2 separate regions of the Homo sapiens genome follow, and region 2 is linked to region 1. The links are contacts of gene promoters, found by promoter capture Hi-C in human tissues and cell types (Jung and others, 2019). All regions are on one chromosome and are shown on one strand. Each heading gives the region's core, a stretch centred on a gene start or on the middle of the fragment in contact. The rest is flanking DNA. Distances are from core to core; before and after follow the strand shown. Region 1 holds the start of KRTAP4-4 (keratin associated protein 4-4). Region 2 holds the start of LOC124904002 (a long non-coding RNA gene).

Evidence for each region. Contacts are between HindIII fragments. The study calls those that stand out against the background at their distance.
Region 2: a fragment that was not itself captured here is called in contact with the fragment with the promoter of KRTAP4-4 in region 1 in 1 of the 25 tissues and cell types used here (small bowel).

The regions. Positions count from the first base shown.
Region 1 is chr17:41,159,220-41,162,922 of GRCh38, reverse strand. It overlaps KRTAP4-4 (keratin associated protein 4-4), which reads left to right and starts at 2,175. Exons shown (of 1, transcript NM_032524.2): 1 at 2,175-3,274. The coding sequence starts at 2,232. The coding sequence ends at 2,732. The HindIII fragment of the contact is 15,846 bases long and covers 1-3,703 here.
Region 2 is chr17:41,105,808-41,109,278 of GRCh38, reverse strand. It overlaps KRTAP4-9 (keratin associated protein 4-9), which reads right to left. Exons shown (of 1, transcript NM_001146041.1): 1 at 2,791-3,471. The coding sequence ends at 3,258. LOC124904002 (a long non-coding RNA gene) reads right to left here and starts at 1,047. Exons shown (of 2, transcript XR_007065754.1): 1 at 900-1,047. The HindIII fragment of the contact is 3,699 bases long and covers 1-3,471 here.

The DNA of each region.
Region 1 (3,703 bases), core at 926-3,425:
TGAAATGCTTGGCACCAGAAGTGTTTCAAATGTCAAGTTTTTTCAGAGTTGGAATATTCGCATTATACTTGTTGAGCATCCCTAATGCAAAAACATGAAATCCTAAATGTTCTATTGGGCATTTTCTTTGAGCATCATATAGGTACTCAAAAAGGTTTGGGTTTTGGAGAATTTCAGATTTCAGATTTTCAGATAAGATGTCCTCAACTTGTAATATTCTATCTGGTGAAGGGATGCTAAGAGGGGACACAACCTTAGGGTGTGTGTATAGTTAAATAAATACTCCCAGTAAATTTAGATATATTCACTCCTCCCCAATCTCGTTTGCCATGCTGCATTAATAACCACTCATTTGATCTACAATTGGTTCTGATATTTCATCTTGTTAGGTTTGATTCCTTGTGAGAGTATTTCTGTAGTTTTGGAAACATGGTTCTGCCATTTGGCATATTCACTTTTTCTTACCTTCATGGCCCCCAAATATTTAGATGAGCATGTTTTATGGAAAGACCCTCAGCAGAGTTGGGGTGTCCATAGTATCCTCAGAGAGACCAGTCCAAACAGAAATTGCTAACCCAAGAGCATCCCAAAGTGGAGGGTGGCACAAAGACAGGAAGTTTCTGCCTTCTTCCTTGGGTTTCTTTAACATCCAGGTTTGGGGGAGTGTGTGTGTGTGTGTGTTTGAGTGTGTGTGTGTGTGTGTGTGCATAATATTCCTAAGGTAAAGGGCCTTAGGAGATAAAGGTAAATACATATATATATAAATATATATATTTCTAAATATGTTATTGTATATATTATATATATATTTATACATACTATTAAATACAAACATATATGAAGAATATATATTATATATTCATAAATATGTAAATATATATATTCCTATATTACCTATATATAAGGTTCTCTATCTACCCATCTATATATGTATAATATATATATATATTCCTAAGGTCCTTTGGCAGAATATATATATTCCCCCAAACCTGTGTGTGTGTGAGTGTATATATATATATACATATACATCAAAAGAAAATTATGGGCCTAGAAGAATTAAAATCACCCAAGGTCAGACATAATGTGTGTGTATGTGTGCGTGTGTGTGTGTATATATATATATATATATATATATACACACACACACGCACACATACACACACATACATACACACACATATATGTGTGTGTATGTGTGTATATTTATATATAGTGTGCATATTTATATATAGTGTGTATATTTATATATAGTGTGTATATACGTGTGTGTGTATACTATATATAGTATATATATGTATATATATAATATATATTATATATATATATATATATTATATATATATAGCAAGGACACTGGGTCCTTTACCTTAGGTTGGCAAGTAAACCTTAGAAATAGAGGAGATGACTCAATGTGATTGTTAAAGCCAGAGAGACAGGAAGGAAAAGTCAGAAGGAAAATCAGCCCCTCAGAGCAGAGAGCGGAGGGACCTGAACCTTTTAGTATAGCTGATCTCTGTAGCCAATTTCCCCTAAAGGCCCTGAAACTGAGTTTTGGAGTGTTGTTTCTCAAGAAAAAGAAGCATCGATAATTCATGACTTAGATGTCCACCTTAAAACAATTCTGCTTTCCCCAGTAGAACATCTAGAAAATGGGTCATGATTCATTGTATGGAAGGTGGCAAGGAATATATCCTAATAGTATTTGTTTTCATGCCACTGGTCACCTGTTTCACATTCAAACCTTCATTGCTCACTTGATCTATAACAAACATGCCATGAGATTAAAGCACAGCTTTCTCCTCCTGAGTCACCAAAAGAAAATTACGGGCCTAGAAGAATTAAAATCACCCAAGGTCAGACATAATGTATTAAGGAAAATGAGGCTGCAGCACATGGTACCTGCAGGCAGATGTCACATGGCAGCTCAAGGAGGAAGCTGCAGCAAGAGGCACACAAGAGGTTGTTCAAGAAGAGCTGACCTGAAGAATCCTAACACACCAGGGGAAGGAAATAATGCTTTTCTCCATGTTGACAAATTTAAGCAGAAAAACAAACTTGCCTAATTTGATAATTGCCTGCTCATCAGAACAAACAATGACAAGGAAAGAGTGCTGCATCCGATGACATCAGCCCTGAGCAGGGTATAAAAGAGGATCTGGGGCAAGGAGACTTCCAAGCCTTCCAAACCCTCCTTCCTGGAAACCCACCCAGAACCTCCACCCTCTGACACCATGGTCAACTCCTGTTGTGGCTCTGTGTGCTCTGACCAGGGCTGTGGCCTAGAGAACTGCTGCCGTCCCAGCTACTGCCAGACCACCTGCTGCAGGACCACCTGCTGCCGCCCCAGCTGCTGTGTGTCCAGCTGCTGCAGACCCCAGTGCTGCCAGACCACCTGCTGCAGGACCACCTGCTGCCACCCCAGCTGCTGTGTGTCCAGCTGCTGCAGACCCCAGTGCTGCCAGTCTGTGTGCTGCCAGCCCACCTGCTGCAGACCCCAATGCTGCCAGACTACCTGCTGTAGGACCACCTGCTGCCGCCCCAGCTGCTGCAGGCCCCAGTGCTGCCAGTCTGTGTGCTGCCAGCCCACCTGCTGCTGCCCCAGCTACTGTGTGTCCAGCTGCTGCAGACCCCAGTGCTGCCAGACCACCTGCTGCAGAACCACCTGCTGCCGCCCCAGCTGCTGTGTGTCCAGGTGCTACAGGCCCCATTGTGGCCAGTCTCTATGCTGCTAGCCCATCTGCTGGCAAACCACCTGCTACAGGACCACCTGCTGCCACCCCAGCTATTGCATTTCCAGCTGCTGCCAGCCTTCCTGCAGTATCTCTAGCAGCAGTAGCTCCTCCTGCTGTGGCTTCAGCTGCTGCAGGCTCTCCTGCTGCATCTCCAGTTGCTGCCGCCCCAACTGCTGCCAGACCATGTGCTGCCGCCCAACCTGCTCTAGTGCTTCTTGCTGCTGAGGCTGTCATCTGGACTCACCAGATTCTCATCAACCAGCATTCTTGATGTAGCTCATCTATGAGCTGAGTTATGGGAAGCTAGTTGGAAAACTTCAGTTCCAACCAATTCTTAGATTGAATCTGGCCTCCAAATATATGCTCCCCCCACATTTTACCTCTCTACCAAATGAACATAAGTTGTAATTTGCTCTGAAATCTGTCAACTATCTTAATTGAAATATTTGCTCTCTGCCATAATTTCTCATATGGAGCTATTCCATTTTAAACAAATATTTATCTAAATAAATCTTAAATAAATTTTCAGGCATAGAAATATACAGATACTGTGTCTCATTATTTTTCTTTTTTGAGTGTGGTCAATTACCAGTCAATTTTTCTGTTGTTCTTCTCTGCAGAATGTAATTTCAGGGGCACCACCTCTATTTCCTCAGCACACTTTATTCTAATATACAATGGTGGTTTCTTAGAGCAAGCACCTGGAACTCTCTTCTTGAAGAGTTTCTCTAGCCAAGGAGCAAGCTCTGGACTGTAGAGTTAAAGCCTCTTGGAATAGTATTCAACAAATGAGTGAGAGTTGGTGAACACATGCTTTAGTTATTTCTCCTCCAGTTGGGAGCATGTTGTACCAGCATGTCAGTGGTCCTCAGAGACACCAAATTCCAGCTACCTACAGGGCTATTCTGATCATTAACTCATCTTGTATTCACTTCCCTCCCTTTCCTGGAGCATTTTTCGTGTTCCATACA
Region 2 (3,471 bases), core at 426-2,925, 53 kb after region 1:
CAGTTTTCTTCTTAAAAAGAGGAACTGAGCTGAGGCCTAGAGGTTTTCTGTGGTGGATCAATATGTGCCATTTGTGGGCAGGACTCCACAGTGGGTCACCACTGAAAACAACAGTTCAGTTCCTCATGCAAATGCACACAGACAAGCTGAATTGAGCTTAATTTGGGGAGAAAAAGCAACAGAGAAGATCCTTTAGAATGCATTTGTGAACTAGAATTAGGATCTTTAAACGACAAATTCCTAGAAGGAAAACAAAACAACAGCCAAGACCACTTTTTGTAAACCTTGCTCAGCCACCCCTTAACTTTGTAGCTCTCATCTACCACTATACACAACAAGGTCAAAGCCAAAGAGGTCAGGTCATGCAATACAGGAAAATAGAGGTTTAGAGTTAAGAAGAATCTACCCATGACTCTTGAAACTCCACAAAGAAAACAAAACACCCCAAAAGGGGTGAGTGGCAACCTTTGTTCTGAATTCTTTAAGGGGGTTCAAGTCATTAGAAGCCTTCTCTAGACTTTTTGGTACTGCATATGGCAAAGGGGGAGGAGGTATATGGTGCAAGAAAAGTAAACGAAAGAACATTCGTGTTTTAAGACAGGAAGCAAACACAGAAACCAAGTGCATGGGTTTTTGGTTCTTTTTGTTTGTTTTCTTCTTTTGCAGCTGCAATGAATTTTAGCCAAATTAGAGAGGTTTTGTTACCCGTAATTTTGAATTCTCACTTGGATTTGACCAAGTCAGGTAGAGTTGGTCAAGTCTGATGGGAGAAAGACCAAAACAAACAACAAAATCTCCAACCATAGGATTACCAAGCACTCTAATGATAAGGAGAAATTAAGAGCAGCTAGCTGGTTGTTAAACTTTAGCCCAGACAAAGCCCCAGTTCAGCTACTTACCTAGGGATGGGTCTCAGGCTGAAGGCTGCTTTCTACCACCCTAGAAGCAGGAAAAAAACTCAAACTGGTCTTCCCTGCTGGGAGTGAGCTCAAACTCTACATGCCTTTCATCATCATGGAAGCAGGAAATCTTGCCTTCCTTGTAAAGGAAGTAAAAGTAAATCTTGCCTTCCTTATAAGGAAGGCAAGTAAGCAAGTAAAACTCCAAAAACAAAAATAGGTGGGGCAGTTGTACAGCAAAATGAACTTTAGTTCTTCACCAAATTTGGGGAGATCAGGGATTCTTTGGGGAGGGTGCTCCCAGACCTCAGCAAATTGTCCTATTGATTTGAGCCATAAAGTTAGCTCATGCTATTACCAGGCACCAACAGGATATTCGTCAAAGGTCAAGGGCATCTCCACTCAGAATCCTTTCACAGTTACCAAAATGTTAACCCAGAAAATCTGAGACAGGTCTCAGTTAATTGAGAAAGTTTATTTTGCTAAGGTTGAGGATGCTCCGGTGACACAGCCTCAGGAAGTCCTGATGACATGTGTGTAAGGTGGTCAGATAACACTTTTGTTTTATACATTTTAGGGAGACATGAGATATCAATCAACATATGTAAGATGAACACGGATTTGGTCCAGAAAAGGCAAGACAACTCGAAGCAAAGGCGGGACAACTCGAAGCTGGGAGGGGGCTTCCAGATCATAGGTATATAAGAGACAAATGGTTGCCTTCTTTTGAGTTTCTGATTAGCCTTTCCCAAGGAGGCAATCAGTGCATTTATCTCAGTGAGCAGAGGGGTGACTTTGAATAGAATGAGAGGCAAGTTTGTCCTAAGCAGTTCCGAGTTTGCCTTTTCCCTTTAGCTTAGTGATTTGGGGGCCCCAATATTTATTTTACTTTCACAGCCTCCTAACCTTATTTATCCTGCCTCATGTTTAAGAAGGCATCATAACTCTATGACTGAGATCTGGACAACATTTTTCTTAAGGCATCTGAAAAAATATGAAGCTTATTTTTCATATTTGAACATATCTGAACAAATCATCTTAAACTTGATTGGCTCAATAGCTTAAGGCCATTTCAGAGCTGATAATAGTCAAATAAAAGTAAAAACATCAAGAGCAGGTGCTCCTACTAGAATGCCAAGTTATAGTCACTTACCATATTCTTTCAGATTCAAATGAAGGCACCTCTCTTGGAAATTCTAATTAGGATATGCACCCCAGCTGCGACCTACTCAAGACTGAACTAATTCCAATAAAATAATTCTTAAAAAGAAAAGCGAGCCTTGAAATTTTCATCCTTTCTGGGTTTATATATATTAAAATGTTAAGTGTGGAGTTGTTTAAATTATAATGTAAACCCGTAGAGACCACAGTCAGCAATATACCATGCTATCCAGATGAACTACAGCTCAATATGCTTTTTTGTCTCAGCAGAACTCACTGGGAAATAAAGCCCACTTTTTGATTATAAATTCCAAAATGTTGTTATTGAGTAAAATGAATTCAGTACATGAAATTCTTTATAGAAGATTTCCCTTCTTTCATTGGTGTCTAATTTTCAGAAATTTGGTTTTATCTTTTTTGTCAAAACAGGGACGATAGTATTATGAGATATAATGTGTTAAAGATAAAATGTGTTTCAAGAGCTAAGGTATGAATTAAAACTGTCTTAATTTAGGATATTAAGACACATGTGCACACACACACACACACATACACACACATATACACACAGCACTTCTATTCCAATACCGTAAATTATCTATATTCGATATAGCATGTATTTTCAAAGTGATTTCAACACGGGTTGCTTTTCCTGCGTCTTTGTGTAAAATATAATTGTCAGGGAATCAGTAAAATAATTATGAAAGCAATAGAGAATGATACCAATGAATTCTTATGTACAGAAATTTTATTAAAAAGCAGAGATGCAACAAAGCATAAGAAATTCACACTAGGAGAAACACAGAATATAACTGGGCGGCTGGATCTGAGGGTGCAACCTCAGTGACAAAACTGGTCCTGCAGATAATGTCTGCCTCACTGAGAAGAAGATCTGTACCTCAAAGTGATAAAGAAAATGAGGAAATTAGAGGATTGGAATAATTTCTAGCTAGTGGATTACAAATTAATTCACATTTGGTGCCACCACCGGAAGAAAAAGAAAGCAAGGGAGGGAGTTTAAAATGAATCAGAATGTTCTCAAAGAGTCAGTGAAATGGTGATGGGCTCATTGGAAACATGAGTTCCATTCTATTGAATGACATCAACCCCACTTCCTGTATCCTAATGGTCAGCACAGTAGAAGGGTCTACATCTGTGGGCCAGTGGTGAAGGGGGAGATAAGCCAGGGCAGTGGGCTCAGCAGCAAGAGGAGGCACAGCACAAGGGGCGGGGGCAGCTGGAGATGACACAGGTTGGGCGATAGCAAGTGGTGTGGCAGGAGACTCGGCCACAGACTGGACGCACGCAGCAGCAGGGGCGGCAGCAGCTGGATTCACAGCAAGAGGGGCGGCAGCAGCTGGAGATGCTGCAGCTGGGGCGGCAGCAGTTGGGCTGGCAGCACACAGACTGG